Regions from separate parts of the Homo sapiens genome. Here region 1 is linked to region 2. Evidence: promoter capture Hi-C in 16 types of primary human blood cells and fetal thymus (Javierre and others, 2016). All regions are on one chromosome and are shown on one strand. The core of a region is centred on a gene start or on the middle of the fragment in contact, and the rest is flanking DNA. Distances in the headings are between cores, read along the strand shown.

Region 1 (7,590 bases), core at 111-2,610, 190 kb before region 2:
AGAAGCTTGGAAAGCAAATGAGAATAGAAGAAAACTGTAAAAAGTGGAGAACCATAAGACTTTTTTTGTTTGCTTGTTTTATTATTAGCTGCAGGCTGCAATTCCTTCTCTCCTTAATACTAGAAACCTTCCTCTCCATAAGTAGACTCCCTAAACGTCACATCCTTCACCAGTTCCCTTTACTGTTTACAGGGAAGGGACTCCAGAATCTGTAATGTAGAAGGCTAAGATTAATGCAGAGATGATAGATTTTTGTATGTAATATATAAGGTATTATGAAACTACTTGCAACATAGTCATTAGAAGAATATTGTAATTTTTCTGATGATAAAAATATTACCAAGAAGTCCTAAGATTTGTAAACCTTTTGGTGTGGTTACAAACATACTGAACTTGGATACTTGATTGTTTGATGGTTCTTTTCATGATGAGTGAAAAATTGGGCAATGTGTGTGGTGTTCTTGTGGAGATCATTTATATCTATCTGTCATATTTTACTTAATCGTGTGGTGAAATATCCAGGAAACTCTTGGTAATATAAAAATATGTACAAAAATGTGCACTTAACTCTGGAATTTTTTCTTGCAGAGGGTAAAGTGATGAGGTTGAAAAACATGCAAGAGCTATAATTGTCTTCAAAATGGTGTTTTTAAAGAAAATATGAAGCTAGTCATAGCTTTCTCTTTTTCTTTTGTTCTATTATATCCCAAAGGGCAGGTGCTTTTTATACACATATAGCCCACCTCCCTCCATTCCCCAAAGCCCTAGGCTCCTACACACTTTCTGCTCTGGTTTTTAGGTTCCTTTTTGATTTTTGGCGCTTGGGGAGGTCCTTTATTTTCTTGTGAACGTAGCTGTGCATTTAAACAGATGTTTCTTACACGTTATCCAGAATTTTTGACTGTTTTATATTAAGAAGGATTTTTAGGTAATCTTGTCTGTAACATTGCCAGAAAAGAAGGCCTGCCTCATTTTCTCTTAGTGGACTTCACTCTCTTCTTCCTCTGTTGTTAACTCTGTGTACCCCTACTGGCACTTAATCATGTTTTTTCAAACTTTATCATTGTCTCCTTTTCTGTTTTTATGTTAAGTTGCTCCCAGCAGCTCTTCTTGGCTTATTACCTTCTTCCTGGCTACGTTTACATTATTATCTCAATCATCATCTGCTAATTATAACTAATAATTAATAGCTAATAATCCTGCTAACTTAGCAGTATAAAAATCAACCTGTGAGAAACTGACCTCATGATGATCTCTTGTATCAGTTAGGATGCCTTTGCCAATACAATGCTCAAATTAATGGCTTAAATAATAGGGCTTATTATTGTTCGGTAGCAAGAAACCTAGAAGTAGTTGGTTCTAAAGCTGGTGCAGTGGCTTAATGATGTCATTAAGGATCTAGGTTCTGCATCTTTTTCTTCTTCTATTAGTGTTTTAGCTTTTATTCCTCAGGCTCATTTGCCTCATGTTTGCAGTATGGTTGCCGTAGCACCAGACATCATGCCTGGATTGGAAAGCAGGGAAGGAAGGTGCATATTTCCTTATAACTCCCTGTTAACAGAGAAGTCTTTTGCAGAAACTCACTTTGGAGAGTTCCATTTCAGTGTCATTGGATTGAACTGATCTCATGCCACTGCTAGCTGTGAGGAAGCCTGACACAGTGAATGTCTGGCATTTACCAGCATCTCTTGTAAGATATGGCCTTTCGTAGGGTGGAAGAAGGGTGAGAAGAATGCGCTGGGTTGGCAACTTGCAGGTTATATCCCTGAACCAGCTACTTTGGCCAGCTGTCTCTGGCTTGGTCTCAACCTTTACGTTGATTTATTTTCTGCCTTATTCTAAAAGAATTAGGGGTGACTTGCTAAATATAGATAAAACCCTGTCAAGAGAAGAAAAATTTATATATAGACTTGTAAGGTACACAGAAACACTTGCCATATGTTAGAAATATTTGGCACTGAGCTTTTTAATAGTCAAAGAAGAGAACAAAACTAATAAATTTTATTCATTTGGTAAATGAAGCTGCAGTAATTTTAATAACCCACACTGAAATCCTGGACATTTCTTATCCTCTTCTTCCCTGGTCAGTGGCAAGGAGAGATTGCATCTCTTCCCATGCCCAGCCTCTCTTTCCCATACCTATTGCCATGGCCTTATGTCTGAGACAGCCTTTCTTACAGTGTTATAATAACCAGCAATACATTTTTCTTTCTTTTTTGTTTTTTTTTTTTTAGAGGTTGGGTCTTGTTATGTTGCCTAGGCTGGACTCGAACTCTGGGCTTCAGGGGTCCTTCCACCTCAGTCTCTGAGTAGCTGAAGTTATAGATGCACGCCACTGCACCCGGCTCCAGCTGCCCTCAGTGCTGCTGTTTTAGAATTTTTCTTTACTGTGCTCCCTCTCTAGCAGACTCTCCTTTCATGGAATCTCTGAAGCAGTGCTTCCTTCTGTTACTCAGTTTTATGTTACATAACAATAGCTGCTTGTTTACTTTTATTTCCCCTCCCCAATTAGATTATTACCTTTTTGAGATCTGGGACCATGTCTTACCCAGTATCCACTTTAGCATCTAGCATGATGCCTTGCATAGCTACCCAAATATGTATTGAATTGAACTTAAATGATCAACTATTGAATAACTTGTGCATTATCTAGAAAAATTAATTCTTCCTGTTCCTGTTGTCTTTCATTATCTTTAGATTTTTCTTCAAGGAACACAAGCTTTCACCTACTCATTCTTTGCATTTTTTAGACAAAGTCAGTTGTATGCAAACTAATTTAATATTTTTCAAACATGCAGATATCAGTTTTAGAGAATGTGGCGTGGAGAAATTCTCAAGGAAAGAGTAAAATGCTGGTGATGTGCTGAGGGAACAGAAGGAGTGTTTGTGAATGTGCACACGTCCGTTTCTGGTCTCTCGTGTCAGCGTCCTACCTGCACAAGGTTAAGGCAGCATTAACAGGTCTGATGTTAAGGGGCCTAGAGTGTTTGTCCTTTTCCCTTCTTTTTGTTTTATATCCATATTCTGGTCCTAAGGATTTATTTCTTAAGTTAACAATATAGTGAGATCACTGAAAGTCTTTCTTCAGATTTACAGAGTAAAATTTTCTTTGATGAATCTGACATAAATGCTGGTAAATTTTTATAGTTGGTCAACTCGAATTGGTATTAATTCTTCTCATAGCTTGCTTTTTTTCTTTTGAAATTTACATTAGGAGAAGTACCTCTTGAGAAGTATTCTAAGCAGAACATGTATTTTAAAATGTGTTTTAAGAAGGAAAACATTGAAATGCATTCTAAATAGAATTAGGTATTTTAACAATCATTGTGTGACAGTTTTAGATGTAGCAAAGTATCTGCTACTTCAGGTTTGAATTGCTTTTAATCAGAAAATGCTGTTAATGAGTTATGTTCAATCTAGGAAGATAGGCTTGTCATTTGTAACTAATGTACTGAAAAAAACACTAGATATGAAAAAGACCCCTGCCCTCTTCAAATAGCATTACCTGTGGTATGATTTATTTTAGTTCTGCCTTCGAGGATTTTTTTTTCCTTGTGAAATTTTTTGCTGGCCTGTATCAGTAGATTTGCAGAGACGGGGAGTAATCCATTTGTGCTTCTCCCCCTGCCCCACGACCACAATTGTTGGCTTTTAACATATGTCATCTTAGGCCTCCTCCATATTAGTTTATGATTAGTGTCTGTAATGGACACTGTCAGTCCATTGACTCTTGGTCTGATTGGAGAATTCTTACCCTGGCAGGCAGATCTTCTCAGACACACTCGCCTGAGACTGTGAACCTGAGGCTGGAGGCAAGGAAAGAAGAGTAGCCCATGTGGCCATTTTCTGGGGGGATGCACAGTGGTGGCTGCTGTGCTGCTTCTAGAGGCAAGGTCTAGTTGTTGCTGCAATGATGATGCAGTCTGCTGTGTCCCCTTAGGCATTGTTATGGCCAGGGGGAGATTCTGTGAACTGTCTAATAGCCGCCTCCCCTTTTTTTAAATCACTTTTCTGTTTAAATTACCTAGAATTAGTTTCTGATGCTCTCAACTAAGAATTCTGATACTTCAGCATCCAGACTTGTCACTGTCGCTGGTCAGATACGTGGTAGAAGCCCTTGTGAAGAGCAGTGATGTATCTTTTTCATCCTGGCTGCCTGTACATTCTGGTCAGAGGTGACCCAGAGGACTGGAGGAGGACACAGTCGATATCAGCTGTGGGTCGTGGGAGCTGTGTTTGCTGGTGGTCAGGCAGGACTCCCGAACCACACACTAGCCCAGCCCACTGGGTCTCATCATGTGCCACTCTTTACTGCTGCTTTTTCCTAATTCTTTGTCCCCCAAAAGTTGGGATGCCTAGGAGCTAATACATAACTCCTTGTGCATTTTTTTTTTGGCTCTGATGTGGGAATATTAGCTACAGAAATATGTGTGTGTGTGCGTGCGTGTGTGTGTGTGCGTGTTTTAGTGGAATGTTTATTTTGTTTAGCCAAAAATTACATCTGATGTACCAAATACCTTTTTAGTCAACATTATTTAGGTATAATTTCACGTATTATAAAATTATACTCATTTTAAGTGTTGTTGGGTGAATTTACTAAAGATATAGAACATTTCATTACCCCAAAAGTTCCCTTGTGTCCCCTTGTAGTCAGTGCTTCTCCTCCTGCCCCACTACCACAATTGTTGGCTTTTAACATATGTTACCTTAGGCCTCCTCCATATTAGCTGATGATTTGTCACTTTGCTGTTCCTGAGGATATTACAGTATAATAAAGGCATGATAAATCTCTCGTTTTTACTGAACTATGAAATCCAAAGAAAAACTATCAGTGCTGTATAAATTATCAGTCTGATAAATAATACTTTGCCGCACAGAAGTGTCTTGAGTTAGATGACTTGTTCTGGTGAGCGGCTTTCCAGTGGATGGCTTTTCTGGCTTCTCTGTGGCCTGTAGACATGCAGGGCTCGGGTTTTCTCCCTGGATGTGATGATGTCTTTTAATTGTTATCTGGGTCAGGTTGGGAGGCAAGAAAGCCAAAATGGCTGAATTCAAATCCTTGCTCTGTCATCTCCTAGCCAAGGGACTGGAGTAGAGTTACCCAGCTGCTCTGTGTGCGCTTCAGAGCCCTCATGCCTAAAAATTGCCTGTTGAAGGCTGTTCAGTCACCAAGTGTTTATTGGGTATCTACTATGTACCAGGCCCTGCTCTTCATATTTCATGAAGTTTTCCTTTTAGTGTAGGGGAGGGGGCAGATAGTAACAAGTAAATTGTGTAATACGTCAGATGGTGATAGGTTCTGTAGAGAAAAACAGCAGGGAAGGGGTGCATGCAGGCACCCCTGTGTGCGGGCGTGGGGTGGGGTGGAGGGTGTTGTAATTTTAAATAGTGGAGCCAGGAAAGGCTTCACTAAGGAGGTTTTAAGCTAAGCCCTGATGGAGCTGAGGGGCCATTCCAGGCAGAGAGAATACAAATGCAGAAGCTCAGAGTGGGGAGCAGGCCTATATTTGAGGAACAGCAGAGGCTGGGGTGCTTAGAGTTGTGGGGGAGGGCAGAGGGAAGAAAGTAGGAGGCAAAAATCATAAGTGGTCCAAAGGATTAAATGAGATGAAACACGTAAAGTGTTTTTGATGCTTACAATTACTGTGTGATGACAGTCTCCTAGGTAGCCTTTAAAAAATCACTCTTGAGAAGAAAAGTTATAAGAAAGAACAGAACCAAATGAGGCATTCCCTCACTCAGCCATTCAGCAAACATTCAAGGGGATTTTTGCTGCCAGGTGCTGCTGTCACAGGCAGGACTGTGTGGGGGAGACCGGGGCTTCAGGAGCTTCCTTCAGTGAGTTCATTGTGGAGACAGAAGGAATGGATGCATGGGACGATGATGCCTGCTAGGTTAGATGGATGCCCCGGGGGCTTTGAGAACATGTGGGGAATGGTTAGCAGTTGTCATGTGAGTTTTAGCTTTTGAAGTTGGATTATGTGAAGAACAGGATGTGTATGCATGTGCAGGTGGCATATGGGGTCAGGTGGGAGCTTTCCAAGCCCAGCGACAACATGGCATGGTGGGGACAGAGAACTGTGGCAGGAGAGTGGGTGTTTGGTAGGCTAGAGTGGAGGGGAAGGTGAGGTGCAGGGCTAGGCAGGAGCTGGTGGCAGGGGTGGGGTGGGGTCGGTGGGAAGAACTCAAAAGAGGCACCAGGGAGAGTGTATGAGTGGAAAGGAACTGAGAGAAGGAAAGAGAAGTCCCAGGTGGGGCACAGGGAGGGAGGAGGAGCAAAGGGGAATGGGGAGGGACTAACACGAATTCAGTGATGATCTTGGATTTGCTTCAACTGCTTTGCCTGCATTAACTCATTTAATCCTCACAGCAACCCTCAATAAGTTAGGGACTGTTATTATCTCTGTTTCACAGATGAGGACGCTGAGGTGTAGAAAGGTTAACTCCCCTTCTCAAGGTCACACAGCTTATAAGTGGTGAATTGAGATTCTAACTCAAGCATTCTGACTCCATGGTCTTGGTAACCCTCTACTGCCACTGAAATCATTCTTAACATTTTGTTTGTGCTTTTCATTGAACCCTGATTGGAACACTGCATGTATATTGGAATTCTTTTTTTTTCTTTTGTCACTGGCCTATGAATGATGCTGACAGAGCCAGCTGATGGATTATCTCTTGGTTCTTTTCTTCTTGGAATGAGTCCCAGCAGGATCAGGATCTGGGATTTCTGAGTCTCTTCTTTCCCATTCTTCTTCATCCCCTCTCATTTTTGCTGGTTTGCTTACAATGAGAGTAGACATTTAAAAACTGATTTTAAGTGGGAAACTGAAGAATTGTGGCAAAGTATTTTCATACTCTTAACTAATGAAATAGTCATTTTTAGTCTTCTTAGATTTTATTTAAATAGACTTTGTTATTTTTAAATATAGGAGATCTCAACGACATTGCAGCAAAACTAGAAAACAACTACTAACATCATTTTTACATAACATTTTTGAAATTATTTTTATTTTTTTTCCTGTAGGTTAGGGTAAGTTTAATGTCTTGTCCTACATATGCAATTCCCAAAATTAAGCCACAGATCACTTCTTAATTATTAATTAAACAGGAAACGGGATAGTTGTACATTTAAGTCCAATAGCTAGTGAATTAGTAGTTTTAAACACCATCACCTTGTGATCTCTTCTGCCCTGTCTTTTTGTAGTTCTAGGTTCAGTCTGTCTCAGTGTCTTCTACGTTCTAAATAATAATAGGGATGAAAACAATTAACGTTGATTGGCACATAATATGGACCAGCACTGTGCTAAGTGCTTGACATGCACCATCTCATTTAATAATCCCCACAGTAGCTTCGCAAAGAGGTTCTGTTATTTCGGCTTTATGGATGAGGACACGGGCACAGTGAAGTTTGGAAGCATGTACAGGGTCACTCAGTTGGGACTCAGTTGGAGCTCTGACTCCAACCCAGGGCTTTATGTTATCAGAGCTGATTGACATTCTTTAACCAAAATCTGGGCTCATTTAACATTAGTGAGATGGAAAGATTTTTACTGTGAACTACCCAGTGATTCTGTGTGCTTCAGTGGGTAG
Region 2 (6,852 bases), core at 1,387-3,886:
GTTGTAGTAATGGAGGATTGAGGTTAAGAGGACCTAAACTAAAGTGGGATGAAAAAGGAGAGATTAAGTAGATACTTTAAGAGAAGACTTAACAGAATTTGTAGTCAGGTTCCAAAAAAGAACCTCAGGCTTCTGACAGCCCTAACAGATGGGCAACTTAAAAGTGTTAGCCAAAGTTTGAATATAGGTCCACATAAAAGAGAGAAAGGACAAAATTCATCCCTCCTGAGACGTAGTCTTTACTCTTCTCTGCCAAACCATGCACATTACTGTCTTCATCTTGATGCATTTAACATTTATTGAATAGTTACTATAAGCCAGGTGCTCCAAGCTACCAGGATGAACATAGTGTCCACCCTCAAGGAGCTTAATTACAGGCCAGTCAGGTAGACAGACAAGGTGACTAACAGTTCACAAAGCATGACAAGTGCTGTAGTGGAGCAATGCATACAATACAGAAAGGGTACAGAAGAGGAATGCATCTCCACCTAGCAGGCAAGGGCATCAGGGAAAGTTTCTAAGAAAAGCTGAAGGTTGAGTTAACTCTTGAAGGATGGACAGGAGTTAACCAGGCAAAAGAGCTAAGAAGGTCACTCTAGGCAGAGGAAGAAGCATGGAGACTTTGAGAGGCAACCATCTCTGGGAGAACTAATTTTGGTCACTTTATGTGGATGGTGAGAAGGATAGGTGTAGGGATGAAGCAAGAAATACAATGAGAGATGTGCTTAGGGGCCAGTAAGCAACATAAATACCATGACAAGAACAATGGACTTTATCCTGAAGGCAAAGGGGAACTACTGAAGAGTTAAAATAGGTTTCCTATACAATCAGATTTGCATTGTAGTAAAATCACTCCAAAAAGAGATGAACTGGAACTGAAGAGCCTAGAAGTGAAGATATCAACAGCAGGTTTCTCTAAGAGTCCCAATGAGGTACTGACTGAGGTTTGACTTTGAAGCTGAAGTCTGGGGAAAGGTGTTAAGAGGTAGAACTGTCAGGATCTCGTGATTGTTTGGATATGAGTGTGGCACAAAGGGGTCGAAGATGACTCCCAAATAGGACTGGCTATATAATTTGTGGGGCCCAGGGGGAAAAGAAAATGTGGGGCTCACTGTTTAAATCTCAAGCCCAGGACAGCAGAACATTAAACCAAGTGCAGGTCCTTCTCAGCTCCCTTAAAATGGCCTTGGTCCTAAGTTTCTGGCTAGGTTAAACAAGTGAATGGATGGTTGTAGCCTTTTTAATAGTAAGTATGACAGAGTCCAGTTTTGAACATTTTTGAGTTTGAGGTGCCTATGGAAAATTCAGTTAAGTTCAGGGCTGGAGACGTAATGCGTAAATTTGAAGTGGAGACTGAGTAACGGATCAGACTGCCCCACTTATGTGTAAAGCAAAAATAGAACCAGATGGAAAAACAATCATCTGAAACAGAAGCTGATAACTTAGGCGGGAAATGAGGAAAGCCAAGGCACAATTTAAATACCAACTCCAAGAAGTTTTGTCTCCTTTCAGTTTCACTCATTCCTCTATGTTTTATTTTACTGTTACAAATCTGCAGCCTGCCTATTGTCTTTAGCTGATTTTTTCTGCATGTATTTGGCTGTATGACTTTAAGCTCCTTGAAGAGAGATTTTACGTCTTTTATCTTCAGAATGAGCCCTCCAGTGACATATATCTAATAGGTCTCTAAAAAGTTAATTATCTAAGAAAATCGTTCCAAAGGTCAAAACTTGACTCATTTTTTTCAACAATGTTTTAGAATGAGACTTTTTAAAGAGAAACTACTATAATTGTTCAAAGGAAAAGTAAGTTAGGTAAGGGGGAAAGTTACTGAAAATTATCTGTATTACAATAAATCACCCTAGCGATTACGTGTATGTATATATTAACACACACACATATGCATGTACATGTATGCATACGTATAACTAGATTTTGGGGGGATGAGGAGCCTTTTAAACCATTCTAAGTTACAAGTTTACAATGCAGGTCAGGAAATCTTGGATAAATCATTTTTAAAAGTGAACAGGAGATAGTTTTAGACTGGTGACTAAATCTTCAAAAACCAAAGCGTGAGGGGAAATCTGGGATGTCTGCATATTGGAGATGGCAGAAACAAAAAACAAAGATGGCAAGCTGACACCGGGGCAACAGCTGACCCGTTTCTTGTAAGAGGAGCCTTCTCGCTGGGGCTGCGGTTATTTTTATCCAAATCTCTGCTGGCGGCTGAACGGGGTACGTCCCTGGCACGTCCCAGCGCAGGCTTCCAGGCTGGCTCGACCGCCTCCCAGGCTCTCCGGAAGGAGACCCCTCCTCACCCCCTCCGAGGATCAGCCAGGCCGGGCCGAGCCCGAGGCCGCCCCTGGCTCCTGGTCCCTAGCTTGTGCCAGCATCCTCGGCGGGGCACAGCTCCTCCCGCCCCGCCCCGCCCCGATCGGCCCCGCCGAACCCAGACCCTGCGGCCCGCGCCCCCCGCACCCCCGGCCAGGGCTCCCGCGGGCCCAGCCGGCAGGACGCGGCCTCCCCCGCTCCTCCAGCCCGCGGCCGCGGCGGTACTCACAGACCTGTTCTGCAGCCGCCGCCGCCGCTGCCGCCATCTTCCCGCGCCCGCCGCCGCCGAGCTCCCCGCCCGACTGTGCCCGCCCCTCCGCGACCGCACCCTGCGCGCCTGCGCTTGCGCCCTGGCGGGGACTGGGGGCACCCGCTGCTCACACCCTCCCCTCCCCAGCCCGCATCCCTGACGACCCGCATCCCAGCCCTGCGGGCTCAGGCTCTGCGGCGGCCCCTGCACCTAGGACCTTGGCCTGGGGCGCGTTGTATTGCACAGGGGCCAGAAGGGGCCTATGGGGATTCCGCTCCACCCCGGGCCGCCTGCAGATTCCTCAGAAAGGGCACCCTCAAAAATCGAGGACGCTTCTCCCCTTCCCCTTTGTTCCCCATCGCTGAAAGATCGGTGCCATCCGGAGCTGTGAGGCTCTCTTTGTTTCTCGGACCAAGGTCTCCTTGGCTAGGGTGGGAGGGGCCGATATCGAGACCACAAGTGGACGCGGACCGGCGTGGTGACTGCGTGGGCAGAAGTGAACGAGTGGTCACTTAGGTGGCTGGAGTCTTGAAGACTGAGAGTCCTCAAGGAGGACGTTGAATCCTTCGGGCTGCTTGACTTCGGAGGCCTATGAAGTCTGATGTTTTTATCCTGCGATACTGGGGATGGATTTTTCATTTAGTGTTGGAGATAGTGTTACCATGTATATCCTCGGGAACCTAATTGAACGGACATTTACTGAACACCGGGAAGCCACTCAAATGTACGAGTTACTTGAGTAGACATTCATTGTTCCCTGTTGTAGATATAATCCAATAATTATTTTAGCTGAAAAAAAATGCAGTGAAGTCAATAGCAACTGTTCCTCATGTAGCTGAATCACTTCTAATAAGCACCTTTGGGCCCTAGTACTGTCTAATTCAGTGGGAGTCAGTACCTAGCTGGTCATCAGTCTCTCTGCATTTCTTTTTTCCTAAATGCTGGAACCACTTGACTCATATCTCTAGACTCACTCCTCTCTGAGTCTGTGGGACAAACATGCATTTTAGGCAGGAAAATTCTAAGTTAAAGCCCAATGATGCAGGAGTCAGCAGTAAGGCTCTGTGTTAATATTCTGCCTGTGGTCTCATTGATCAATTTGCACAACTGGGCTTTTAACTGATTCTGAGTTCCTATCTTCTAGTCCTTAATTCCTAAGCTTTGCGTTTTTCTCTCTGCTGGGAAAGTTCTTCTTCCCTGGCACGCGCACTCTTATTCATCCTTCAAGAACTATTCTATTCAAACGTCATATTTTCTCTAAAGGCTTCAGAGGCTCCCACAGATCTGTTCCTTAACTGTGTGCCTAGCCTTTTCTAGCACTTCAGATTGCATTGTATTTTTATCTTGTCTACCTGCTGATTTCATTCAAAAGATGGTGTGTTCTATCTGGAAGGTAGGTGTCTTACTCATCGTTTAATCTCCAATGTCTAGCACAGTAATTAAACTTAATAGATATCTTAGAAATCTGCCCAGTATCCCAATTTCTAAGCCCTGACTTGATTTTGCCAACCTCCCTCCCACTTAGGTGGTGAGATACCTGGTAGCCAATTTTCCTGAAACCAAATGCTCCTTTGGCTATTTGAATATCACCTTCTCTTGGATTCTTTCCTCATCGCTGATGTCCATCTCTGACAGGACATCCCACTATTCTTAATGCCAATTTCTATTCTCTTTTAAAGAGATCCAATTCACTCACATGACCACATTTTAATGTGGGTTATTTTCAAATGTACTATTGTCAGCCTTTTTTCCCCTGAAATAATGACATTTAAAGTCAACTCTGTGCCTGGCAATGCCTCTTTTACAAATGAAGAAATCAAGGCTTGTAGAGGTTAAATGGCTGACCATCTTTTCAACTCCTAAAGAGCCAGTATTGAATCTAGGTCCATCTGACTAGTCTTTGCTCTTTCTACCATACATCACAGCCTTTAATTTTGCTCTTTCTTTTGACTGTTGCATGATATTAGCATTTGGAAGCACAAAACACAGGTCCCCAGGGCTGGAGTATGAGTCAGATTATGAAGACACTTACACCTTTGTTCACTTTGCAGTGGTTTGAATAGTGCCCTGCAAAAAGGCATATCCAAGTCCTAACCTCCAGTATCTGTGAACGTGGTGTTACTTTGAAACAGAGTCTTTGCAGATTGCTATAGAATGAATGTTTGTGTCTCCCCTGAATATTTCACATGTGGAAATCTTAGCCCCCAGTGTGATGATATTAGGAGGTAGGGCCTTTAGAAGCTGACTTAGTCCACTTTGTGCTTCTATAACAGACCATCTGAGAGTGAAGAATTTATAAAGCACAAAAAATTATTTTCCCACAGTTCTGGAGGCTGAGAAGTCCAAGCAGGTTCAGTTGTCTGATGAGGGTCTGGTCTCTGTTTCCAGGATGTTACCTTGAACACCTTGTCATCCTGAGGGGAGGAATGCCAAGCCCCTATGACCTGAACAGCTCTCAAAAGGCAACACCACCCAATGCTGTTGCATTGGAGATTAAATTTCCGAACATGAATTTTTGGGGACACATTCACATCATAGAAGGAAATGATGGGTGATTAGCTATCACTATTCATGATTAGTTCTCATGAATAGGATTAGTGCCTTTATAAAATAGATCCAAGAGAATTGGTTTGTTTCTTCCACCATGTGAGGACACAGTGACATCTATGAATCAGGAAACAGGCCTTCACCAGACACTAAATCTCTAAGCATGTTGATCTTGGATGTCCCAACCTCCAAAACTGTGAGAAATAAAGCTCTGTTGTTTATAAGCCACCTAGTCCATATTCTGTTATAGCAGCCCAAATGAACTAAGACAGATGTTTTTAAGGATCTTGAGATCACTCTGAATTTAGGATGAGCCCTTATCCTTATAAGAGGACAGAATGGCAACATACACTAAGATGATATGAACATAGAAGCAGAGATTGGAGTGATCACTCTACTAGGCAAGGAATACCAATAATTGCCAACCGCTACCAGAAGCTAAGAAAGAGGGATGGAGCAGATATACGCTTAGAGCCTCCAGAAGGCTCTGATTTCTTACTTCTAACCTCTGGAACTGTAAGACAACAAATTTCTGTTGTTTAAAGCCACCAAGTTTGTGTGTTACAAATACACACTTCAAGTTCAACACATGAAAAATTTGAACTCAAAACCTTTCTTCCCAATCTGGTCCTCCTGTGTTCCCTTAGTGAATGATATCACCATCTAGTCAGACACCTCAAAGTAGTTCTATACTATTTCTGGAATGATCTTTCTAAAATACAAATCTGATCATGTCACTCCTCACCCTCAAGCTTACCATACTCCAATACCTTTCATGATAAAATTTAAGCTCCTTATATTTGGTCCTTCACCAAATTTTGGTCCTTCACCAAAAGGTTAGAAACTTTTGGTCCTTCTGCCCCTTTCTAGCCTTGTTTCCTGCCTGTCCCACACACACATCCAACGTGACTACAGAGGAGTCAGGGAATCAGAGACAAAGTAATCTATCCCTTTATCCCTGTGCAATATTTGCAGCCCCCATCTGCTTGCCCGAACTCAAGTTCTTAATGGCTCTGTTCCTTTGCATATGTGGCTCTTTCTCCTTTTAATCTAGCTGTCTCTACTTGTCCACTAAAACTCAGATCAAGGGATATCTTTTCTGAAAAGCCTTTCTTAAACCTTCTCCCAATCATACATTTCTGATTTGTGTGGACCTCTCTGTGATCCCCAAGCATGCTGCTATTGTCACATCACACTATACTGAAATTTATTTATTTGTCCATCTGTTTTAGTTATCTGTGAATTCATGCCTCTCCAGATTCTTCCCATTTTTCAGAACCAACCTCAGTCCTACCTCCTCCTGACAATCACAGCCAGTCCTTATTCCTCTTTCCTTTTAACTATTATTGCACTAATTTGCTGTAACACCCATTTGATACTTAGTGCAGTATCTTGTTACTTTACTTTTCATGCATATACAGTTTGCTTCTGATTAGACTGAGTTCCTTACAAAGCAGAGGTAATGTGTTATTATTTTCCATGTTGCTCTAAGTCCTGAACACATTAAGAACCAAGTATATAATACATACTTAATAGCTCTGATGAATATTAAATTAATTTTTTCTATTGGGTAAAAAATATTACTAGCATCTAAGTATCTCTGACATCGGTATCTAATGCTCACCATACCATACCCCAGAGAAGGCCACTAGACTAACCCTCATCTCTGTGTCTTCTAAGTGCTCTTTCAAGGGTCCAGTTCTGCCCCTTCCATACTTAACCTC

What was found. The method cuts DNA at HindIII sites, captures the fragments that hold promoters and counts their contacts. A CHiCAGO score of 5 or more calls a contact.
Region 1: a fragment that was not itself captured here is called in contact with the fragment with the promoter of SGCB in region 2 in 8 of 17 cell types (monocytes, naive CD4 T cells, non-activated CD4 T cells and 5 more); the score reaches 9.8 in monocytes.

Annotation. Positions count from the first base shown.
Region 1 is chr4:51,845,407-51,852,996 of GRCh38, forward strand. The region is part of intron 1 of DCUN1D4 (defective in cullin neddylation 1 domain containing 4); the gene reads left to right. Among named protein-coding and RNA genes, the nearest start is that of DCUN1D4, 6.0 kb to the left of the region's middle. The HindIII fragment of the contact is 2,714 bases long and covers 4-2,717 here.
Region 2 is chr4:52,035,663-52,042,514 of GRCh38, forward strand. It overlaps SGCB (sarcoglycan beta), which reads right to left and starts at 2,637. Exons shown (of 6, transcript NM_000232.5): 1 at 2,565-2,637. The coding sequence starts at 2,597. RefSeq lists an enhancer at 2,050-2,169 and a silencer at 2,410-2,849. The HindIII fragment of the contact is 11,224 bases long and covers 1-3,738 here.